3 separate regions of the Homo sapiens genome follow, and all the other regions are linked to region 3. Evidence: promoter capture Hi-C in 16 types of primary human blood cells and fetal thymus (Javierre and others, 2016). All regions are on one chromosome and are shown on one strand. Each heading gives the region's core, a stretch centred on a gene start or on the middle of the fragment in contact. The rest is flanking DNA. Distances are from core to core; before and after follow the strand shown. Region 1 overlaps LYPLAL1-DT (LYPLAL1 divergent transcript). Region 2 overlaps LYPLAL1-DT (LYPLAL1 divergent transcript). Region 3 holds the start of RRP15 (ribosomal RNA processing 15 homolog).

Region 1 (3,570 bases), core at 374-2,873, 870 kb before region 3:
TGTCTTGCAAGAAAAATATATTCAAATATGTGAGCCATTAGAGAAAAATACAAGCTCAAACTCCACTTAAACAGTTGGATTTTGACATAATTATTTGTATAATTGCTTTAAAACTTTATATCTCTTGTTTTCTGGAGAGCAATTTCAAAATGACAAAATTAAATTGATTTCACTGAAGGTTTGGTATGGTCACCAGAAAATGGGTTAAAACAATTATTGTAGCATGATGTGGCACATTAAAGTGAAATGATTGACTACAAGCTAAAAGTTTTAAGACAAACTTAATCCTTGGCTTCTTCTTTGCTGCTCTCACACACACTCTAACATGTGACAAACAAGGCGGAGATTTTTAAAAACATTTTAAAAACTACATCTTGAGTGAGACAGTACAAGTAAACTTGATCAAACTCCTTATATTTATGTTGTGTGAAAGGCTTAACTATCAACACAAAATCAGGTTTTTAGCTTTCTTCTAAGTAATACTTTATATTGAAAGTAGAGTGGACGAAGAAAGAGCCTTTACACACCCTAAACAAGCTTGAAAGAGATGCACAGATATCTTTCCAGCCAGGGCGGGAGGGGAGATCTATGAGTCAAGACTTGCACGCTGCCCAGGCTGGCACTGACAGTACATAAATACCTTCCTGTACTATCAGAATGAACTGAAAGCAGCCTTAATTGGCTTGATGGCTTTGTTTGCACATGTAAAATGCAAAGTAGCAATTGCATGTCTTCTAAAATAATCTTGAAATTCCAGGGCTGTCTTCAATTCAATGAGCTTTTTTAATCTCTGTAATCATAATCTTATTCCAGATAGAAGACTAGGACATTGGACATTTCAGCAGGCATTTTAAAAAGTAGCAACACTAATTTTTATGCCAAGTGTAAGGATTATTCTTTAGAAATAAGTGAGACATCTTAAAGAGAACTCACTGATGCCCAAATTCTATCTTTTTGCCATGGTTGTGAGATACAAGGAAAGAGCAGCAGCTGGAAAATGAGGCTGGTATATAGCCATTTACAGAGAAAGACTCATTTTGAGTACAAAGAACTGCATCTGGAAAGAGGATAAAGTGGTTTCACAGACAGCACCCAGTAGTTTGAACAATAGAAGAAAATAGGTACCATCACTCAAATAAAATCCACATGGGCAAAAGTTATACATTGGACTTCTTGACCAGCGTTAATATGTAGCCCACACTTTTACTTAGGAAGACAAAAGACAGGCTAAGATTTAGAAACTCAGATCAGAGGCCTTTTTTCTATTTTTTTTTTTAACATAGGAGTGACATGTTCATATACGTAACAGGCTAGCTGTGGCACATAGAAATAACAATAAGAGTGAATGAGAGGCTATAAGAAGACACTCATTAGTAATCTTTTTCTTTTTCTTTCTTTTTTTTTTTCTTTTGAGACAGAGTCTTGCTTTTTTGCCTAGGCTGGAGTGCAATGTCTCACTGCAACCTCCACCCCCCAGGTTCAAGCGATTCTCTTGCCTTAGCCTCCTGAGTAGCTGGGACTACAGGCATGTGCCACCACACTCAGATAACTTTTGTATTTTTATTAGAGATGGGGGTCTCACCATGTTGGCCAGGCTAATCTCAAACTCCCGACCTCGGGTGATCCACCCACCTCAGCCTCCCAAAGTGCTGGGATGATAAGCGTGAGCCACCACACCCAGCCCTTCAATAGACTGAGAAGGATGGGAGAGAAGGCAGATTGGAAAGGTTGAATGGTATAGGACTTTGTTATCCATTTGACTTGGGGATGAGGTATAGGAAATAATCTAAAATGGCTATTTTAAAGTGTTCTGGTGAAGATATTAACAAGTATAAAGAATACAGACGAAGAAGCAAGTGTAGAATGAAGATAATTAGTTTAACTTTCGGTGGGTTTGAGGTGTTAATGGGAATTTGGTGACAGCTGGGAATTTTGGTCTAAAGCTCAGTTTGGGGATAGAAATAAATTTTGAGAGTCATTAGCATATAGGAATCAGAGAAAACTACAGGAATTGAAAAATCATTTGGGGAGAAAATTTGTAGGAGAAGAAAAGATAACTTAGAAATCATTTTTTTAAACCCACATTTAAAAGCTAGATCAAAGAAGACAAATTAGTGAAAACCTCTCAGGAGGAACCATGAAAGTAGAAGGAAATATAGTGGAATGTCATGAAAGCAATGGAGACAGTTGTTTTGAGATGTAGGTAAACAACTGTGGGGTGCTATAGAAGGATGAAATGAATCCATAGGATTTAGCAGGTAAGGAAGAGGTGACCAGAAAAGTTTCTGAGAGCAAGTTCAGTAGAAATGTGGGACTCAGGGTCAGATTGCAGTGACTCGAGTTGGGAATCTGGAATGAGAAAGTGTACACAGCGAGTGTAGTCTATTCCTTTAAATAGTTAACTTGTAAAGCCAAGGAACAGACAGGGCTGGAAAAAAAGGTATTTTAAAATATGTGGATGATGCTATCTTATTATAAACTGACAAAAGAAGGCAAAGGAGAAGAATAAACAGAACAATCATGTGCAGGAACTCAAAGATGAAAGGGGAAGGGAGCCAGAACCTGGAAGAGCAGGGCTGTGCTGCCTCTAACACTAGAAAGGGAAGAATGGGTCAAGAAATAGAGGTAAATCTGAATGTGAGAATAGATTACACCCTGCAATGGCCATTTGCTGAGAATAAAAGAAATAGAAAACAGATTAGAAGCTTAAAAACATAGAGGTTTAAAGGAAAAGAGAACTGAGTAAGAATAGGGAATAATTGCTAATTCACTGTAAATACAAACAGAACATTTAAAGGAGCTAATCAACATTGTCATCAAATTTGTACCAATAGCTTCTGGGAAAAAAAAAAGAAGAAATAAACAACGTATTGATCTGTTTTTGGAAATAGCAAGGCAGGAAGTCAAGGTGGGGTGGAGGTATTAATGAGACTGGCGAGGATGTAGTACTGTATGGTTTAAATAGTAAGAGAATTAAAGCCAGAAAGGGCAAACAGACAGGAAAAATGATGAGGCAATAAAGTGTGTAGATCTTCAATGGGGTCTCTGAGCCAATTTAGTGGGAATGAAGGAATAAGAGAGATGAAAGGACAAGAAATGACATATTAAAACATTGAAAGTTAATTATTTCAGAGGTAAGATATTATGATGCAGAGTATGGTAGTGTGAGAATGCCCTAGACTGTTAGGGTTTTAAGGGTGGGGAATAGCAAGGATATTCTGTGTCCAAAGTCAAAGAAATGGGGACAGGCTTGAATAGCGCTCATGAGGCCCAGAGAAAGGGGAGGTCCAGCTAGAAAGGAAGCAGTGATCTGTCTGGAACAGTAGCTGTGTGCTGAAATTTAAAAGAGAAAGATATCTATATTTCTTTTTTAAACTGATAGACTGAGCTAATTACAGAAGGGTTTGAAAACCTATTGCGGGATGAGAGCTTTTGTCTAGTGGACAATTGGAAACCATAACGAAATGTTAAGCAGCAGGATGCCATGAAGAAAGTGATGTTTTTGACACATTTACCTGGATGGAGACTGTGGAGGTGATTTCAGAGAAGAGGAGTCTATACCTTCAGGGT
Region 2 (3,570 bases), core at 554-3,053, 810 kb before region 3:
CACATTGATTTATTTGCATTTGCTGAATCATTCTTGCATCCCTGGCATAAATCCCTCTTGGTCATGATGAATTATCTTTTAAATGTGTTGTTGAATTTGGTTTGTGAGTATTTTGTTGAGGATTTTTGCATCAGTATTCATGTGGAACATTGGCCTGTAGTTTTCTTATTTTGATGTCTCTGTCTGATTTTGGTATCAGGGTAATACTGGCCTCACAGAATGAGTAAGGAAGTATTTGCTTCTTTATTTTTTTGGAATTGTTTGAATAGGATTAGATTAATATTAGTTCTTTAAATTTTGGGTGAAATTTAGCAGTTGAAGGCTTTGGGTCTCTGATTTTTCTTTACTGGGATACTTTTTAATATGGTGTTGAACTCATTACTTGTTATTGGTCTATTTAGATTTTGGAAATCTTCATGATTCGGTCTTGGTAGGTTGTATGTGTCTAGGATTCAATCTATTTCTTCTAGGTTTTCCAATTTACTGGCATGTAGTTGCTCATAGTAGTCTCTAATGATTCTCTGAACTGCAGTATCAGTTGTAATACCTCCTTTTTATCTCTCATTTTATTTATTTGGGTCTTCTATCTTTATGTCTTTGGCTAAATGTTTATCAATTTTATTTTTTTAAAATAAGCCACCTTTTTGTTTAATTGATATTTTGTATTGTTTGTTTTGTTTCAATTTCATTTATTTCTGCTTTGATCTTTATTATTTCTTTTCTCCTACTAATATTGGCTTTGGTTTGCTCTTTGTTTTCTAGTTCTTTAAGATGCATCATTAGGTTGTTAATTTGAGGATTATCTGCTTTTTTGATGTGGAGTGCTTATTGCTATAAGCTTTCTTCTTAGTATTGCTTTTGCTGCATTCCATAGGTTTTGATATATTGTGTTTCCATTTTTGTTTGTTTCAAGGAATTTTTAAATTTTATTCTTAATTTCTTCATTGACCCACTGGTCACTCTAGAGCATATTGTTTATTTTCCATGTGTTTGTATAGTTTCTGATATTTTTCTAATTATTTATTTCTAGTTTTATTCCATTGAGAATAAAACTGGAAAGATGAGACACTTGATATTTTTTCAATTTTTTAATTTTTTAAGACTTGTTTTTTGTTCTAACATGTGATCTATCCTTAAGAATGAGCCATGCCTTGAGGAGAAGAACGTGTATTCTGCAGCTCTTAAATGAAAGATTGTGTAAATATATATTAGGTCCATTTGGTATATAATGTAGATTAAGTCCAATGTTGTTGTTGGTGGTGGTTTTCTGTGTAGTGGTTCTGTCCAATGCTGAAAGTGGGGTGTTGAAGTCTCCAGCTAATATTGTATTAGGGTCTATCTCTCTCTTTAGCTCTAATAATATTTACTTAATATGTTTGAGTGTTCCAGTGTTGAATGTATATATATTTACAAGTGTTACACCCTCTTGCTAAGTTGACTTCTTTATCATTATATAATGACCTTCTTTGTCTCTGTTTATAGTTTTTGTTTTGAAATCTATTTTGTCTGATGTAAATATAGCTACTTCTGCTTTTTTTGTTTCCATTTTCATGCAATATTTTTCAGTTCCTATATTTTAAGTCTAAGTTAGTCTTTATAAGTGAAGCGTGTTTCTTATAGTTACCAGATTGTTAGAGCTTGTTTTTTTATTATTGTTATTGTTCAGGCTCTCTATGTCTTGTGATTGGAGAGTTTAGTCCATTTACATTCAATGTTATTATTAGTAAGTAAGGACTTACTACTGCCATTTTGTTATTTGTTTTCTGGGTGTTTTATGTGTGCTCTTCTCTTTCTTCCTTCCTTCTTCCCTGTATTCCTTTTTGGGAAGTTAATTTTTTTTGGTGGGTTGTTTTAATTTACTGATTTTCAGTTTTTTGTGTATCTGTTGTAGGTTTTATGATTTGAGGTGACCATGAGGTTTGGAAATAACATCTTAGAACTCATTATTTTAAACTGATCACAACTTAGCACTGGATACAAAACAATCCAAACTCACAACAACGAAAGAGAAAACTAATAAAAGCTCTACACTTTAACTTAATCCCCCTGCTTTCTAACTTTTTGTTGCTTCCATCTACGTTTTATTATACTATGTCTTAAAAGTTGTAGTTATTATTTTTGATAGGTTTATCTTTTAGTCTTCGTATTCAAGATATCAATAGTTCACGTACCACAATTACAGTGTTATAATATTGTGTGTTTGTTTGTGTACTTACTATTACCAGTGAGTTTTGTACCTTCAGATGACTTCCTATTGCTCATTAGTGTCCTTTCATTTTAGATTGAACAGCTCCCTTTAGCATTTCTTGTAGGGCAGTTCTGGTGTTGATGAAATCCCTCAGCTTTTGTTTGTCTGGGAAAGCCTATTTCTTCTTCATGTTTAATGGGTATTTTCACTGGGTGTACTCTTCTAGGATAAAAGTCTTTTTTCCTTCAGCACTTTAAATATGTAATGCCACTCTCTCCTAGATTGTAAGGTATGTTATTTGTGTCTTTTCTCTTGCTGCTTTTAGAATCCTTTCTTTATCCTTGACCTTTGGAAGTTTGATTATTAAATGTCTTGAGGTAGTTTTATTTGGATGAAATCTACTTGATGTTCTACAACCCATCTATACTTGAATTTTGATATATTTCTCTAGGTTTGAAAAGTTATCTGTTATTATCTCTTTGAATAAAATTTATACCTTGATCTCTGTACCTCCTCTTTAAGGCCAGTAAATCTTAATTTGCCCTTTTGAGATATTTTCTAGAACTTATAGGCAAGCTTCATTCTTTTCTATTCTTTTGTTTCTTTTGACTGTGTATTTTCAAATAGCCTGATTCTTTCTTCTGCTTGATCAGTTCTGCTGTTGGGAGACTCTGATGCATTCTTCTGTATGTCAATTCAATTTTTCAGCTCAGAATTTCTACATGTTTCAAAAATTATTTCAGTATCTTCGTTAAATTTATCTGATAGGATTCTGAATTCCTTCTCTGTGTTATCTTAAATTTCATTGAGCTTCCTCAAAATTTCTATTTTGAATTTTCTGTCACTCTTGGATTGATCAGTGGTGACTTTTTCAGTTTGTTTAGTGAGGTCATGATTTCCTGAATGGTCCTGATGCTTTTGGATGTTTGTGAGTGTCTGGGCATTGAATAGTTAGATATTTATTGTAATATTTGCAGTCTGCACTTGCTTGTACTCCTCTTGTGGAGGGGTGATGCAAGCTCCACTGTGACTACCACACTGAGACTGTGCTGAGTCACACCCAAAGATAGCACAGCACTGGGTCTTGCTCAAGACCCATGGTGACCACTGCCTAGTTACTGCCAGCGGAAGGAAGGAGTCTCCCCCAGGTTACTGAGCTGCACTGCCTGGGTTGGGGGAGGGGTGATGCAAGCACTCCCTTGTCCACCTGGCTGGTGTCTCATTAGGTCAACCCAAGTCTACTGCCTTCTAGCCCAGCACGCACCAAGACTTGCCCAGGAATTGCAGTCCTTGTCGCCTAGACTGCCTTTGAGGTTTATGTAGTATCCCAGAGTGCTTTGGCCCATGGTAGTGGGGCTAGCCAGAACTCTAGTTCCAACCAC
Region 3 (4,047 bases), core at 1,269-3,768:
GAAAATAAACAAGACATACTTTTGACATTTGGGGAACTTATCTCTATAAGGAGAGAGATATGTTAAAATATAATAACATAGTATATTATCAATAATACACGTAAGATATAAGTAAGCAACGCCTAGGCTGGGTTCCAGAGGATATGAATTTCTCTGTCTCCATCCTTACCTTTCCAAAATTGAACCATGATCTTGAAAACTACCTTTTAATTATACTAATACACTATATTACAGTCCTGTGTTTAATATCTTTCCTAAAACTGAAATTTTAATGCAGAAATATATTCATCCTTTGTATCCTCAACACCTAGAGGGTGACTGGAACCTAAGGGAACACAACAAGTGTTCATTGAATTGAATTAGATAAATTAGGTTTCCATATTGGCCAAAAACCTTTTTAACCCGTAATGTGGCTGATCTATAACAGCAAGAGAACCTTAAAACCTAATCAGCATTTATAATAATACGCTGAAAAGTCAGAACAGTTCCAACTTGGAATTATCCAGTATTTGAATAGAAAAATCCAATTTGGCCAGGTGTGCTGGCTCACACCTGTAATCTCAGCACTTTGGGAGGCCGAGACGGGTGGATCACTTGAACCTAGGAGTTCGAGACATGCCTGGGCAACATGGCAAAATCCCATCTCTACCAAAAAAAAAAAAAAAAAAGAAAAAAAAAATTAGCCAGGTACAGTGGTATGCGCCTGTAGTCCTAGCTACCTGGGGAAGCTGAAGCAAGAGGATCGCTTTGGGGGGCGGTGGGGGAGGAGGTCAAGGTTGCAGTGAGCCCTGTTTGTGCCACTGCACTCTAGCCTGGGTGGCAAAGCAAGACCCTGTCTCAAAAAGAAAAAGAAAAATCCAATTTGTAAGCAGTACTGACATTTTGCTCCAAATATAGCAAATATAGTACTCTTCCCTTCTTGAACAATAGTGTTTGAACTAGTCTAATGAATTTAAAAAATATCAGAACCAGAAGTTCTAATTTTGGCCCAACAAATAGTTTGTTTTCCTTAACAATGTGGCAGGAGATGAAGACTCTAATTACCTAGGAATTGCAGTAGCATATGACACTTTCTTCTTGGTCCTGGAAGTCCAGGTTAATTCATTCATTTACTTAAATATCTGTGAAGGACCCACAAGGCAATAGGAACTGGGGATACAGTAGGCTCTATTTTTATGGAACTTATATTCCAATTGGGAAAGCAGCAAATACATACATCAAATGGTTTGGGCAGGGTTGAGAAAAAATAAAGCAGGGCAATAAGTCAAAAAGTGAAGAAAAGAAGGCAGGAAGAAGAGTAGTGGTGGTACGTTACATAGGGTAGTCAGGGACAAGTCTCTCTGGTAAGGCACTGGATCAGAGGCTGGTGAGGGAGAGACATGCCAAGCATTTGAAAACTATTCTAGGCAGCGGAGCCAACAAATGAAGAAACCATGGTGTGGGAGCATGTTTAAGGTGTTAAACACAAGCATACCGGTATGGCATGATTACAGTTAGTGGTTTGTGAGGGGCATATTGGCCTATGACAGACAACCTGGCCCAAATCATACAGCCTAAGGATTTTGGATATTATATACTGAGATGAGAAGCCACTGGATCATCTCAAACAGACAGCGGGCATAATTAGAAATACGTTATAAAAGAATAGCTCTGTCTGTTTTTTGGGTATCAGCTGGTACAAAGGAGCAATAACTGGGCAGTAGGAAGTCAGGGATTACCTGCAATTCCTTGTAACCTAATAAGCTGGTGCCAAGAATGATGGTAAAGAGGAGCAACAGACACAGCATGGTTGAAAGCCTCAAAAACACATCCTTCCTTCCTTTTATTATCAAGCGTCTCTGAGAGACATAGTTATCAAACACTACCAGTTTTTAATCGACCTTAACCACCAAACTCTTCTTTCATTCACTATTATTTAGTCTCTAAAACACGCACACATCTACCGCACAAAAAGTCAAGTACACCCCCTTCTTCCTCTTACCTCTTTTAACCTTTTGCTTCTTACACCCTATGAGACCCATTCTTCTCCTGTTTTCAAGTACCCTCTTCCTTTCACCCTTTGCTACTGTAAGTTTCTCGGTAGCTGCAGGTGTTTCACCCATTTTATTATAATTAATAATGGTGACCCTGAAAATACCTAGTAAAAGAATGTGGAAACTCAAAATTACAGTTGACAGCGTTACTTCTCTGAACACGACTTCCCCAAGCCTCCTCACTAAGCCAAAGTCGCCCCTCTGAAGTGGTGCCAAGATAAAACCCAGGTGGCTAGCAGCAAATGAAGTCGCAAGCGCTGCTTGACACGAACTCAGCCCCGCCTTTCCTCCCAGACACCAAAGCTCAGCCCTACCACATTACCTTCACTATCAGAAGTGTCTGTGGCCTCGTCTTCCAGCACCGACGCTACGGCTCCAGTTACCATTTTCATCTTCTTCTTTGGGGTCTTTTTCAGGTTTTCTTCCTCACTCACACGTGAGTCCGGAGCGGCGGCTGCCATTTTTCTGCGCCGGAAGCGTCACCTGACAGTTGCGTCCGGTGGCAACCAGAGGAACTTCTGCATTTAGTGCCGGTAACACAAGGTTCCGGGGCGGGGTCGTCTAGCCCAGAGTTCCGGGGCCGGAGCCTCAGAATGTGACTTGGAGAGAGCTCTGAATGGCTCGGTGTGTTTACGCGAAGTCCGTTCCAGGACGAAAATCAGCGGCTGAATGGCCTCAGCCGACTCCTCCGCTAGCTCGCCTGTGCCCTGGTCCTCCGCCCCAGTGCGTCCCCAGCCCGTCCCCAGCCCAGCGCGGTCCACTTTGATTTCCTAGCCTCGGCGGCTTCCCTTGTCTGCTGCCTTAATGTTGGTTTAGTGTCCTCCTCAGGTGTCTCTTACGTGCCCACTGAACGCCGCAGCAGCTAGGACGCGGGACAGATCCACTGGGGGCCGATAATTAGAATACGATCGTATCATCCCCCCGCCCAAGATAACACGCGAGACCTTTCTTGCAAACCGAATAGACTCACCTTCTTTCCCTGGGGCGGGTGTTGAATCCAACCGCACCCTTCTCCCTCGGACCCGGCTGGGGCCTGGAGGGTTTCTGGCGCCCGACTGCGCAGTGCAGACCGAGGGTGCGAATACCTTGCTATCCGCGCGAGGATCCTGCCTCCCACCCGGGGCTAGCTTTTCTCTGAAGTTAGCCTCTGTCACCAGCTCCTAGTTCCATCGAAGCACCTACCACAGTCGGCCTTCATTTTCCCCCCTAAAATGTTGGCTTCTCGCAGGAGGGGAACGTATTTCATTTACCATGTCCCCTCAAGGTTAGCAACAGAAGTTGGCCTGAAGTGAATTTTCCAAAAATATTTTTGGAAGGGATGAATGAATCAATGAATGAGTGACAGAATATAACTATTGACAAAGTTAATGACTCAGATGGATAATGCAGCAAACCTTTACTGGCTAGACTTGTTCTAAAGGCTTTCCCCAAACTTAGCGTTTTCCCTTTCCCCTCTTAAGGAGGTTCATAGATTGTGATACCCATAAGTCAAAAACAAAAACAAGAATCCTCATTTTGACATATTCCAGTAGATGTTTATGTAGGAAATAAATATATATTCACATCCTAAAAACTCAATACAACATTTTTAAACTTGGTTTTTAATTTTTTTGTCTTTTAAGAGAGAGAGGGTCTAGCCGGGTGCGGTGGCTCACACCTGTAATCCCAGCACTTTGGGAGGCTGAGATAAGTGGATCGCTTGAGTCCAGGAGTTTGAGAACAGCCTGGCCAACATGGTGAAACCCCATCTCTACTAAAAATACACAAATTAGCCAAACGCAGTGACGAGTGCCTGTAGTCCCAGTTACTCGGGAGGCTGAAGCAGGAGAATCGCTTGAACCTTGGAGGCGGAGGTTGCAGTGAGCGGAGATCGCGACTCTGCACTCCAGCCTCGGCGACAGAGCGAGACTCTGTCTCAAAAACAAACAAACAAAATCTACCACCACCACCACCAACAACAAAAAATTGTGCAGAAAAAAAATGACATTTTGAATACAGTTGGTAAGAGATGAGA

The links. Contacts are between HindIII fragments. The CHiCAGO score rates a contact against its expected background, and 5 or more counts as called.
Region 1: a contact is called between a fragment that was not itself captured here and the fragment with the promoter of RRP15 in region 3, in 1 of 17 cell types (non-activated CD4 T cells). The highest score is 5.0, in non-activated CD4 T cells.
Region 2: a contact is called between a fragment that was not itself captured here and the fragment with the promoter of RRP15 in region 3, in 1 of 17 cell types (total B cells). The highest score is 6.6, in total B cells.

Annotation. Positions count from the first base shown.
Region 1 is chr1:219,157,210-219,160,779 of GRCh38, reverse strand. All of the region lies in intron 1 of LYPLAL1-DT (LYPLAL1 divergent transcript), which reads left to right. Among named protein-coding and RNA genes, the nearest start is that of LYPLAL1-DT, 15 kb to the left of the region's middle. The HindIII fragment of the contact is 2,168 bases long and covers 540-2,707 here.
Region 2 is chr1:219,088,830-219,092,399 of GRCh38, reverse strand. All of the region lies in intron 3 of LYPLAL1-DT (LYPLAL1 divergent transcript), which reads left to right. Among named protein-coding and RNA genes, the nearest start is that of LYPLAL1-DT, 83 kb to the left of the region's middle. RefSeq lists an enhancer at 3,129-3,178. The HindIII fragment of the contact is 1,926 bases long and covers 841-2,766 here.
Region 3 is chr1:218,283,764-218,287,810 of GRCh38, reverse strand. It overlaps RRP15 (ribosomal RNA processing 15 homolog), which reads right to left and starts at 2,518. Exons shown (of 5, transcript NM_016052.4): 1 at 2,356-2,518. The coding sequence starts at 2,494. RefSeq lists enhancers at 2,261-2,540, 3,071-3,140. The HindIII fragment of the contact is 12,027 bases long and covers 1-4,047 here.